Regions from separate parts of the Homo sapiens genome. Here region 2 is linked to region 1. Evidence: promoter capture Hi-C in human tissues and cell types (Jung and others, 2019). All regions are on one chromosome and are shown on one strand. The core of a region is centred on a gene start or on the middle of the fragment in contact, and the rest is flanking DNA. Distances in the headings are between cores, read along the strand shown. Region 1 holds the start of TTLL6 (tubulin tyrosine ligase like 6). Region 2 overlaps SKAP1 (src kinase associated phosphoprotein 1).

The links. Contacts are between HindIII fragments. The study calls those that stand out against the background at their distance.
Region 2: a fragment that was not itself captured here is called in contact with the fragment with the promoter of TTLL6 in region 1 in 1 of the 25 tissues and cell types used here (thymus).

The regions. Positions count from the first base shown.
Region 1 is chr17:48,813,294-48,819,658 of GRCh38, reverse strand. TTLL6 (tubulin tyrosine ligase like 6) reads left to right here and starts at 2,430. Exons shown (of 16, transcript NM_001130918.3): 1 at 2,430-2,689. The coding sequence starts at 2,587. It overlaps LOC105371813 (a long non-coding RNA gene), which reads right to left. Exons shown (of 4, transcript XR_001752926.1): 3 at 3,667-3,820; 4 at 2,701-3,230. RefSeq lists silencers at 2,235-2,584, 2,675-2,724. The HindIII fragment of the contact is 9,954 bases long and covers 1-4,974 here.
Region 2 is chr17:48,286,768-48,293,132 of GRCh38, reverse strand. All of the region lies in intron 4 of SKAP1 (src kinase associated phosphoprotein 1), which reads left to right. Among named protein-coding and RNA genes, the nearest start is that of SKAP1-AS2, 4.4 kb to the left of the region's middle. The HindIII fragment of the contact is 3,810 bases long and covers 1,517-5,326 here.

The sequences.
Region 1 (6,365 bases), core at 1,181-3,680:
GCTTCAATGAGTCATGACCGTGCCACTGTACTCCAGCCTGGACGACAGAGCAAGACTCCATCTCGAAAAAAACAAAATAAAATTATTTTGGCCGGGTGCAGTGGATCACGCCTGTAATCCCACCACTTTGGGATGCCGAGGTGGGCGGATCACGTGGTCAGGAGTTTGAGACCAGCCTGGCCAACATGGTGAAACCCGTCTCTACTAAAAATACAAAAATTAGCCGGGCATGGTGGCGGGTGTCTGTAATTCCAGCTACTTGGGAGGCTGAGGCAGGAGAATTGCTTGAACCCAGGAGGCAGAGATTGCAGTGAGCTGAGATCGCGCCACTGCACTCCAGCCTGGGCGACAGAGCAAGACTCCGTCTGAAAAAAAAAATATATTTTGACTGGCACAGGAAGAAAGGGCTTCTAGGAGGGACCTTGGTTCAGGGAGCAGAAGCAGGATCTCTGTTTGTTTCATTAACTACTTAAAGGAAGAACTCCAAACTGAGAAAAAACGCTGTGTGTGAAGTGCAGAGCAAACAACCTTACGGGGATTTTACTGTTGTTTTACTATTTATCTATTTAGTCAGGTGGGTGCCTTAGGAACAAAACAGCAGTGAAAACAACAGGGTTGGACCTGGATTTTTCCACACACTCTTGCCTCTGACAGCTTCTAGGACATGGTCCAAATTTTTTGACAATTAGGACCCTCCATCATTCTGCTTCAGTTTTTCATGCCCAGGCCGAGTAAGTCCCTCAGTGTTTACCTTGTGGATTTGTCTGTTTAGGGTTTGCCAGGCACAAATCACTGATATTCTCTGCTTTCCTGGCTGTCACTCGGGTTGAAGCTTGCTTTGCTCTACAGTGAGGGCAGCTCCACTGTTCACCGTGTTCACCCTGTGTTTGCTCCTGACATCAGCCCTGAAAGGACAGTAGTGCCAGGCTCTGGCCTATAAGCTCCCGTTGCAACATCTCATAAATAACCAGTTGTCAGGGATTTTAGTGGAAACTCTCTGAAAGCCGTAAATCTTTGCTGCTCTCTCCTGTATCCTCTCCCTCATTTCCATCACAATATCACTCCTGAGGGACCGGAGACCAAACAGGAGCTAGGCAGAGCAGATTGGTAGGACGCTGGGGAAAGACAACAGTGGGATGGGGGAGGGGACCAGGCTGGGACAGTTGGTCTTAGGGAAGCATCTGCTGGGTGACCAGTTAATGATGGTCACTTGGCCCCTTAGGGCCTGTCGGGGAGGGGCACCACAGCACGGGGCCACCTGCGGGGGGAAAAGGGAAGAGTGCTGACTGGATGGCAGAGAGGTTTCTGAAAGAGCAGCAGATGGGCCACTGGTTCCACTTTGGGCCTTCTGTTCACTCCGGGGTGACTGTAAGCACCACGTAGTAGGCTTCCAGGGTCGGCTTGAGGCTAAGCTACACCCTTGCCTCTGGTGTTCTGCCTGTGCACATCAGCAGGTGAAGGGGATCTGGGTTGGGAGGAACTTAGGTTACCAACTCAGGCCCAAATGAACAATGTTTATTTATTTATTTGAGACAGAGTTTCCCTCTGTTGCCCAGGCTGGAGTGCAGTGGCGCGATCTCAGCTTAATGCAACCTCTGCCTCCTGTGTTCAAGCGATCCTCCCGCCTCAGCCTCCCGATAGCTGGGACCACAGGTACGCGCACCGCGCTCGGTTAATTTTTGTATTTTTAGTAGAGAGGAGGTTTCGCCATGTTGTCCAGCTGGTGTTGAACTTCTGAGCTCAAGCGATCCACCCACCTAGGCCTCCCAAAGTGCTGGGATTACAGGCGTGAGCCACCGCGCCCGACCATCTTCAATGATTTGAATCCAGTCACTACTACAGATTCTCCACCTGAGACCAAATGGTTGCTCTGAGAAGCCCAGACCCCTAACCCCTTAAGTCTCACTGACTCTTCAGTCGGTCTAGGCGGCCCTCTCTTACTGATCAGTTCACTGGAGGCCATGACCCCCACACTCTGGAGGTGAGGTCAGGGTTCAATACGCCTGAGCGGTCATCACAGGTTTGCAACACCCATTTTCCTGTTGAAGAAGCTAAGCCTCACAGAGGTAACGTGGCCTGCCCAAGGTGACACAGGCACTAATATGCCTGAGATGCTGATTTAAGTCTCCAACCAGTGTTTTCCCACAGTGCCTCCTGCTTCAGGTTTGCCCTCTCCCGAAGGCCTAAATTCAAGGTGCCCCCCTCCCTCACCGCAGCCCCGCGCAGCTGGACCTCTGGAGCCAGACGTTCTGGCCGCGCCCGCGCACGGCGCCCGACGGCACCGGCGCGGATGGGCTGGGACTGCGGCTTGGCTCGCTGGGCAAGGGTAGGGCTGCGGGAGCGAGCGGCGGTCCAGCCCCTGGCGCCCGGGTGCGCGGTGCGCGCGTCCTCCGCGTCTCCCGGGACAACCGTGGGCGCGCCCCTCCCCTAGCGCCTGGGCGGTTAATTGGATTCGGGAGGGAGGGGGCATGGCAGCTACTGCAGGGGCCAATCGAAGGCCTAGAAGGCCCCGTATGCAAATATGAGGGCCGGGCGGACCCAAAGTTAGGGCGAGCGCGGGTTGGGGTTGGGGCTGTCTGGCAGCCAATGGGAGCGTTACTCCTTCATCCTTCGAGGAGGGGGCCGGCAGGTGTGGTTGCAAGCTGGACTAGCAGCCCAGCGGGGCGAGACGGGGGAGTAGGAATTGCGGGTAAGAGCGCCCCAAAGCCCGGTGCTGGCTCCAGACCGCAGCCTCCTGGTGCCTGTCCCCTGAAAACCTGGCTAGACACGTCTCCTTAAACCCACACGGGACCCAGGTCCCCAGGGTAGCCCGCTGCCCTCCCTGGTGGCGTTCCATGGCGCCAGGCACTCACCCTCACGGTCCCTCGGCTCCGGGACTCCCCCCTTCTCAGTCCCTCTTATTAACGTTCATTTCCCGCCCTCCCCCGATTTCCTAAACCACAGTCCACCAAGGAGCTGTCGCTTAGACACCAGCGATCCCTGGGACTCACACAACTCTCTTCATCCCCTTCATCCCCATCATTGGGTCATTTTCTTCATCACTGTTCTTCCTTTGTCTGGAGAAACCTTCCAGCAAGACACTTCCCATTTTTCATGGCCGGCATAGTCCTCTGCTGATGCCCCTACCGCCTTCCAGCCTGGTGTTCTTTCATTTCCAGTTGTTATTTCTCACCCCTCCTGAAAAAATACTCTTCTGGCTTTGCAGAAAGTTCTCCTTTGGGATTTGAACTCTAGGAAAAATATCACATTGGGGGATGAAGTGGGAAGGGAGCTAACGTTTTGAAAGCACCAGTATGTGCGAGGCACTCCAAAAAAATTTAATATTTATGCCAATCTTATTATTATATTTTCTTTTTTGTTTGTTTTAAGAGATGGAGGTGGGGGTGGGGGGGCTCACTTTTTTGCCCAGGCTGGTCTCGAACTCCTGAGCTCAAGTGATCCTCCCACTTGGGCTTCCCAAAGTGCTGGAATTACAGGCATGAGTCACCACGCCTGGTTTATATTTTCATTTTACAATATAGCCTTTATTTTGAACCAAGCACTGCTTTAAGGGTATTAGAAATATTAACTCATTTAATCTTTAAAACAGCTCCATAAAATGAATATTATTATCATCCCCATTTTACTTATACAGAAGCTGAGGTACAGAGAGGCTAAGTTACTCACCCATGGTCACACATTCTAGAAACTAGTAGAGCTGGGATTTGGATCCAGATCCATCTGTCTTTGTTAGCAATGCCCTGAATATTGTGGAGAAAATGACTAGGCATGAGCCTGATCTGAATATTGCATCTTCCAATCTTGCAGAATTTCTCAGTTTCTAGAAGAATAAAAGATGGCATCTAAGTCAGCAAGATTCTTATTGTTCCCACTACAGGTGACTTGTCATTCTCAACACTTCTTATTGGCAAAGCCCTTGAGCAATTGGGTGCCCCATCCCTCCCTTGTTAGTTCACATTTTGCTTAGGACCCTTTCAGGCCCCGGGCTGAAATTCAAAGTGTGACTAAAACGAAAAGTCAAAAGACCACAAAAAACATCTTATTTTATCCTGTCTGAATCAAAGCTCAAAGCACTTTTCTAGATGTGAAGCTTTTATCCTCCTAGTGGTCCTGTAATTATAGAGAAGATAGGGAGTGGGAGAGGAAATAATTGCTTGGATTTTTATGACATACTGAGTTGGAGGGGCAAAGCTGAAAGCAAGATCCAGAGGTCTTACCTCCACATCTTTTCTTCCCCCATCCAATTTGACATTTTCCAAGAACCACTGGAGGCCTTCAGAGGGATGCTTCCAGTAGGGAAATGAGGACCAAAAGATGAAAAGGAGGTACGTGAAGGAAAACCTATTATCTGGTGAAAGAGAGGGACTTCACAGACAGACACAATAGGCGAAACTTTCAGTGCTCTATATATTCCTATAGACTAGAAAAAAAGTCCAGGTGATGAAGGTCAGAGATGAAAAAACTTGGCTACAACTTGAAATATGTTCTCCCAGGGTTCTCTTAGTCAACCACCAAATTATTGTTTTCTATCATTTATAGGATGCCCGTGTTCATTCAGTTTTGCAAAAGAAATCACTAAACTGCTGGGCGCGGTGGCTCATGCTTGTAATCCCAGCACTTTGGGAGGCTGAGGTGGGCTGATAACCTGAGGTTGGGAGTTTGAGACCAGCCTGACCAACATGGAGAAACCCCATCTCTACTAAAAATACAAAATTAGCCAGGCGTGGTGGTGCATGCCTGTAGTCCCAGCTCCCGGGAAGCTAAGGCGGGAGAATCACTTGAATCCAGGAGGCAGAGGTTGCGGTGAGCTGAGATCGTGCCATTGCACTCCAGCCTGGGCAACAGGCTGGAGTTTGAAAGAAAGAAAGAAAGATAAAAGAAAGCACTAAACATTTTCCACCCTCTGCAACACCTCCAGGGAAGAGGAGAGTAGTCAACAGGTATAGTCCTTCAGAAGTGGAAATAAGACAGGGACCCTCCTCTGAGTTTTTTCCAAATAACCCGCAATGGACCCGTCCCAGTGGACCCGTCCCAGTGCTCATTCCCTCCCCCTGGTGGCCAATGTAGGACATTTTCGTGCTGTCTAACCAGGATCTTGTTGACAGCCTCTGGCTTGGAAGATCTCAAGATCAAACCCTATACTAAAATGGAAGGAAACATGAGAATTTTTTCAGTGTCTTAACTATATCCTACTTGGAAAGGTGGACTAATACCCTTCCTTAATGACACAATGCTCTTTCTTGTGTCATTAAGAAAAACTGAAGATGCTATTTTGCTATTTACTGTGTTTGTTACATTGGTAGTACAGCTCTTAGTCTTTTTTTTTTTTTTTTTTTTTTTGAGACACTGTCTCCCTCTGTCACCCAGACTGGAGGGCAGTGGTGCGATCTGGGCTCACTGCAACGTCCGCCTCCCAGGTTCAAGCGATTCTCCTGCCCCAGCCTACCGAGTAGCTGGGATTACAGGCGCCTGCCACCATGCCCAGCTAATTTTTGTATTTTTAGTAGAGACGGGGTTTCACCATGTTTGCCAACTTGGTCTCCAACTCCTGACCTCAAGTAACCCACCTGCCTTGGCCTCCCAAAGTGCTGGAATTACAGGCGTGAGCCACCGCACCCAGCCTTAGTCTTTTAAAAACTCTCTAAAGCACTTAGTCCACTTTGTCTGTCCACTAACCCAGCATAATGGGAAGATAACTTGGGGACCAGGAAGCTGGGGTTTTGATGGTGCTTCTGATTTCTTGCTCTCTGGCTGGGTACAAGTCCCCTCCCCTAGCACAGACTGGCAGAGGGCAGAGAGTTCAAAACCTCCTCTAAAAAGATTCCTCCCAGCTCTAACATTCAGGAATTCCATAGAAGCTTAGAAAATATTCTAATTACACCCTTAATAGGAGCCCTGGTACAATGTGGACATTGGAGAAAAGAAGGGAAAGAGAGTGAAAATAAATACAAGTAGAAACAATACAGCTGTTACCAGGTTATGGCAAATCTGGAGAGATCCAAGCCCTTGTTGGAGATGGGAATTTAAAGCAGTTGACTTTAAGGAAAATGATGTGGGACCAACTGATTATTTTTCTCTTTTTCTTTTTCTTTTTGTTTTTGAGGCAAGGTCTAGTTCTGTCTCCCAGGCTGGAGTGCAGTTGTGTGATCTCTACTCGCTGCAACCTCAGCCTCCCGGGCTAAAGTGATCCTCCCACCTCAGCCTCCTGAGTAGCTGGGACTACAGGCACACGCCACCACACCTGGCTTATTTATTTATTTATTTATTGGTAGAGTGGGGTTTCACCATGTTGTCCAGGCTGGTGTCAAACCCCTGGCTCAAGTGCTCTGCCCACCTTGGCCTCCGAAAGTGCTGAGATTACAGGC
Region 2 (6,365 bases), core at 2,172-4,671, 530 kb after region 1:
AGATATTAATATATTATATTGAAAACTACATAGATTTCACAATCTAACTCAAATGTAGATTTTTTATGAATGTGTCTTTCTTAAGTTTGAGCCTTTAATTAAGTTTTACGACGTATATTTTCAAGTTAGAAAAATGAACTTGCCCCAGTGTGCTTTTTTAAAAATTGTCTAAATAATCCACAAGAGATTGTTCTAGACCAAGAATCTTACAGTAGTTTATAGTTTGCAGTGACAATCCTCTTCAAAATCCTTTAGATTTGAAAAATTGTTACCTCATTTATTTGTTCTGAAACTTTGCTTAACTTCCTTATGAGTTGCAGTATCAGTAATTGTGTATGATAAATTCAACAGCATAAGAGTAATTCTGCCTTTAAAGCAGCAGCATGAAATGGTCAAGACCTGCAGTATAACTTACCATATCTCCCCATGCCCAAAATTCAGTGACTTTCTGAAGAAGCTTGCTATTGCTTTATGAACAGGTTCAAAGTCTATAATACTCATCCAAATATGAGAGGTGTTCTGACAGAACTTCCCCATAAGGTAATTATTTAATAATCTTGTAAATACTGTTGGGAAGACTAGATTTAAAGTATAATTTTGTGATGTAGTATTTTTTCTTGGTATCTTAAAATATGTATTTTTTCTTTTTATTGTTGCTTATTGTGTTTATCTCATTTTAAATTAGCAAAACTCATGAAGGCATATTTATAAATAGTTGTAACTATGACTTTTAAAATCAGATTTTGAATCAGCCAGAAAAAAAGCGATGTGTTTTTGTTTTTTTGGTTTTTTTTACAAATGTTAGCACATCAGAATAGTTGTTAACATCAATGACTAAACGATTGACCAATGACAACATTAAGAAATGAGTGATCATGACAAATTCACCAAGTTACTTTCATGAAATGCTTCCAGAGGGCTGATTTTAAAATGTTTTAATTTTATCCCTGTTGGAAGTTTTCTTTTTTCTTTTCTTTCTTTCTTTCTTTTTTTTTTTTTTGAATAGGCTAAACTAATGATTTTCATTAGTGTATTTGTGATTTATGTGATTTTAGTAGGTTATACCAAGGTTAAATAATTTAAAGAAATAAACCCTTATCTGATATAAGATAGCTAATGAAGTATATTAGATACTTGCCCTATTGCTATATGAAGTGGATCTCCAAAGCTAACAACAGCTTTCTGCAGGAACACAAATCTCTATATAAATATCCAAATGTAGCAAGATGTTGCAAATTTTTAAAGATATGCCATAAAAATAGATTAACGCTAGTATGCAGTCCTGTTCAACTGAATTACAAAGGGATATCATGGGATTGCCAGTGACATTCACATAAATAAAAAATCAATTCTTAATGATGAGGCAGACTTGTTTTAGCGCATTACCCAGGTTAAATGAGAGCGCACAAAGACATCAACTCCTATAAGACTAGCGGAATCATTGTATATTAATATGATTTAGGGAGCTACACACCTCAATGGAATAATTGTTATTATATCTATAGAGCCAGATGGCACTTGGTGTAAACAGCCATTGAGCACCTCAAACACAAGTGTGGCAGGTGATCTTTAAGATGTTCTTGCATCCTGCTCACTCATCTTATCATTGGAATCTGCGTTACTGTTTGCAGAATGATTTGATTGCCAGTACGCAAATTTTTCAGAATGGTGCTGTTGTTCAATAGGAACCTAAGAATATAGAATGTCCTCAGCAAGAGAATAGATGAAGCAGAATAGATGAGGCAGCTGTCTGGATTTGTGTGGGTTAGCACTGAATTTTTTACAAGAAAGAGAACAGAGAGAGTAATTTTTTTTTCCAGCACCAGTGGCCCCAAAATTCAGAAATTTTAAAAATTAACTCTCAAATTTTCAGTGAAGTGGGCTTTAGTAATTACTATTTTCAAAGTAACCCCATGAAGGTGGTCAACAGGTATAAAAATTTGTGCTTGCAAAGTTAGAGAAATGCAAGTTCTGAGCAAAAGTTTATGATTTTGTTTTTGTTTTTGTTTTTGTTTAAGACAGGGTCTACTCTGTCACCCAGGCTGGAGTGCAGTGGTGCCATCATAACTCATTGCAGCCTCAAACCCCTCCTGCCTCAGCCTCCTGAGTAGCTGGGATTACAGGCGCATGCCACCACAGCCAGCTAATTTTTTGTCTTTTGAAACATTCTCACCATGTTGCCCAGGCTGGTCTCAAACTCCTGGCCTCAAGCGACCCTCCTGCCTTTGCCTCCCAAAGTGTTGAGATTACAGGTGTGAGTCACCACACCAGGTCAGAAGTGTCTTTAATTTTTTGTAAAATATTTTTCTTTTCTTTGAATATTTAAAATTGACTTCTGCTAACCCTAATTATCCAGTTACAGAAATCTCATTCATTTATTCAACAGATATTTACTGGGCACCTACTATGTGCCAGGTACTGTTCTAGGCACTGGAGATATGTCAGTGGAAAACCCTGCCTTCACATAGTTTGCATTCCTCAGGGGGCAATAAATGAAATGACATGATGTAATGTAAACTATGTGAGAAATAAAATAGGGAAGAGAGACAAAGTGTGCTAAGGTACAGTGTAAAGCTTAAGATTTGCCTTTCCTTCCTCAAGAACATAAAACAGATTATCCGGGAAGAATAAAAGAGGCTGGGGAAGTTCTTGTTTATCTTCTGACTTAATCGATCTTGTGAAATTCTAGTGCATTGTCTGATAACCCACCTGCTGTTATAGCCTCAGCTCAGCAGCCAGGGTTAAATAGTTGGAATGAGTGTTCAGTGTAAGCTTAGATTATTGGCTTGAATTAAATTTAATAATGTTACATAATTTTTTAATGGTTTTGTTTCTTTCCTCTGATAATAACATTAAAAAACATACCATCTTTAGTTACAAATAATTCTTGAATTGCCCCTTTCTCTACCTTGTAACCCATGTTTAGTTTCTAATCATCAAGGACATGAAACTGGCCTCATAGACGAATTGTTATCATAGTAGATTTAGTGGACTTTGATATCCAAACATATGAAACAGATTTTTCAAGTATCTAAAATAGAGAATGTGCCTCAAAATTTTGAGATCTTATAAATCCATCTGTCCCTTAATAATAAAATTCATACTAATTCTGAGAATATTTCCATCACCCACTTCAGGGTACTATTGACTGCTTAACTCCTGGATTTTAAACTAATGTTCAGTTCTTCAGCAGATGTAGTTTATTATATAACTGCAGCCACTCTTTAGGTGAAACATGGTACATGTTCTGAAATACTCCTTTAGTTTAGATGAAAAAATAAAATTCATTTTGTAATATGACGTAGTCTTCATTCAGGCTTACTTTTGATTAAATATTAATTTTTAAATATATATATATACTTATTGGTGCATAGATAAAAATACTGAAAGGATGTGTTCTAAAGTGTTAATAATGACTACAGATTACAACATAATAGGGCTAATATTTCTTTTTTCCTTGTACTTTTCTGTATTTTCATTTTTTTCTGTAATGAACTTGCATTCTTTTTGTAATCAAGAAAAAACACTCAGTATTATTTTATGAAAGCTAACAGAGCCTAAAAATTTATACTTCTGTTTAACACAACACCTCACAGCTGGCAAGTGAATGCAGATCAGTTTTTCAAATATCAGAAAGTAGTAGAAATCAGCAAACATTAATATTTAAATAATGCTGTGAAATTACTAATTTTACCTATTTCTATTTATTGTAGTTAAACAGTACAGTGCAAAATTTGATCAGTTTATCCCTTCTTTTATTTCCAAGATATCAAATTTTTTTTTAAAAAGTAGGCAGGAATTTTTTTAATGACATGCCAAATATACCAAATTTCATAAGGAAACATGTTTTTAATTTCAGGCCTTTGAATATGATATTACTCATAAGCATGAGTATTTATGAATATATAGGAAAAAGAGTCTTGAAAACTTTATTTCTTTTAGCAGTCAACAATATTTAGCCTATCAGAATGCTTGAATAGATAAACATTCCTACTGTTTTAATTTTGAATATAGATTGTCTTGTGCTGATGGGAAGTATTGTTAATTTTAATAAAATTAACTTTATATTGTTATTTCACCACTTTATAATAATTTTACATGGTGCCCTGGGGATGCCTCTGTTTTACATTATCAGGTGTCACATTTGCCATTTGGTTGGCATAGCAGCGTTCAGCTTCACTTCTCTGTTCAATTGCCTGAAGCCACACTATTCATGTTATATTACAAGTAGCTATTTTGCTATACACTGCACAAGTTTATATACTTTTATTTTATATGTATATATCATTCTTGTATTTTCTCAAAATCACTGTTTTGTGCTATTTCCCAGCATTTCTCTTGCTTGCCTTTAGGTAGACACGGTTATGATAACAAGTTGGCTAAGATTCCTAGCAGTCTGCCTCCAGTACTAAAATGTTTAAATTTCTTTTCTTTGCTTTGGTTTTTTTTGAGATGGTCTCACTTTGTCGCCCAGGCTGGAGTGCAGTGGCTCAGTCTCGGCTCACTGCAACCTCCATCTCCTGGGTTCAAGCGAGCCTTCTGCCTCAGCCTCCCGAGTAGCTGGGACTACAGGTGCACGCCACCATACCCGGCTAATTTTTGTGTTTTTAGTAGAGACGGGGTTTCACCATATTGGCCAGGATGGCCTTGAACTCCTGACCCCAGATGATCCACCCACGTTGGCCTCCCAAATTGCTGGGATTACAGGTGTGAGCCACTGCACCCAGCGTAAATTTATTTTCAATCTGGTAGTCAGCCACTATTTTGATAGATTCTTAGCCAGTGCTTCATTGTTTTTGATGAATTATAGCTTAAAAAACCCTTAAGATATAACTTCTTATAGAGAGAGAATTATTGCTATTTAAAAATAAGGGGAAATTATTGATGACTTTCATAACTCACTGTATGTCAGACAGATCACTGAGAGATAATTAATCAGAACACGCCTTCATTAAATGTTACCACTTGTCTTAAACTCTCCCATGAATTCATAGAAATCAGACTAGCAAATAATCAATTAGAGAATTCAATATTTGTCAAATTAAGTAACACTGTTACTAAATATACAGTAATTAAATTAAAGATATACCAAGTTCCTCTTGAGTCAGTCCATGTTTTTACCAATTTTTCTCTTTTTTAAAAAACACAAGTTTATGGCTTAGCTTTGAGCTCCATCTGCTTTGAATTCTGTTACGTGTTTTTATTATGATGCTATGTAAGACGTAAGAGAGTGCTAAGACATTTTGGTTAACTGTGTCAAATATTTACTGTGAACAATTCTAAATATACATTTTAAATAGGCTTTCTTTTCCACTTGCGTTTGTATATATGTGTTGATAAGCAAGCTGGTATATGAGACCTTATGTACAGCTGACGGGTATTTGACTGATAAGCTAATGAACTCTAGAGTCTGAGCAGCATTTAACTAACTGATAAATAATAGCAAGCAAACTAATCAATTTAACCCTGTTTTAGTACTTAATAGTCAGAGAGCAAATAAAAATTAGTACTGAGAAGTTTTTATAAAAGTATGCTTTATATTGGCATTTTTATTTTTCAGAAATGCCTCCTTTTTTTTCTTTCTTACCAAAAATTTCTGTGCCTAGTAGGAACTATGTTTCTGCTTTGAATTATACCATTATTCCGTGTTATTAGGAATCATATATCACTTCCTTTCACACCTTCGAGTTTAATATTTTGTGTACACTCTTTTAGTTAGAATCTTGGAACGATATATAATAGTTTTACCTTTGGTTCTACTAAAAAAAAATGTAATTACCCTGATATTCTCTTAAAGCCTAGGTTGCTTATTAGATATATTTTTCATTTTCTATTATTATTGTGAATTTTGTAGGTTTGAGGGATGTTGCTGACTATAGGTAATGAAAATGTCGAACCAGGTGGTAAGAGTCACTCCTGTGTTCTAGCTGTGGCACTGGCACAATTTGCCAAATAACTTTGATAAAGAAATTAAAATTATCTAGATGATTTTTATTTTATTTATTTATTTATTTATTTATTTATTTATTTATTTTTGAGACGGAGTCTTGCTCTGTCGCCCAGAGCTGGAGTGCAGTGACACGATCTTGGCTCACTGCAACCTCCACCTCCCGGGTTCAAGCAATTCTCCTGTCCCAGCCTCCCGAGTAGCTGGGATTACAGGCGTGCGCCAGCAAGCCCCGCCAATTTTTGTGTTATTAGTAGAGACAGGGTTTCACTATGTTGGCCAGGCTGGTCTCGACCTCCTGACCTCGTGATCCACCCGCCTTGGCCTCTCAAAGTGCTGGATTACAGGCATGAGCCACCGCGCCCAGCGAAAATTATCTAGATGATTAAGATGAGCAATATGAAGAGGAGTTATAAGA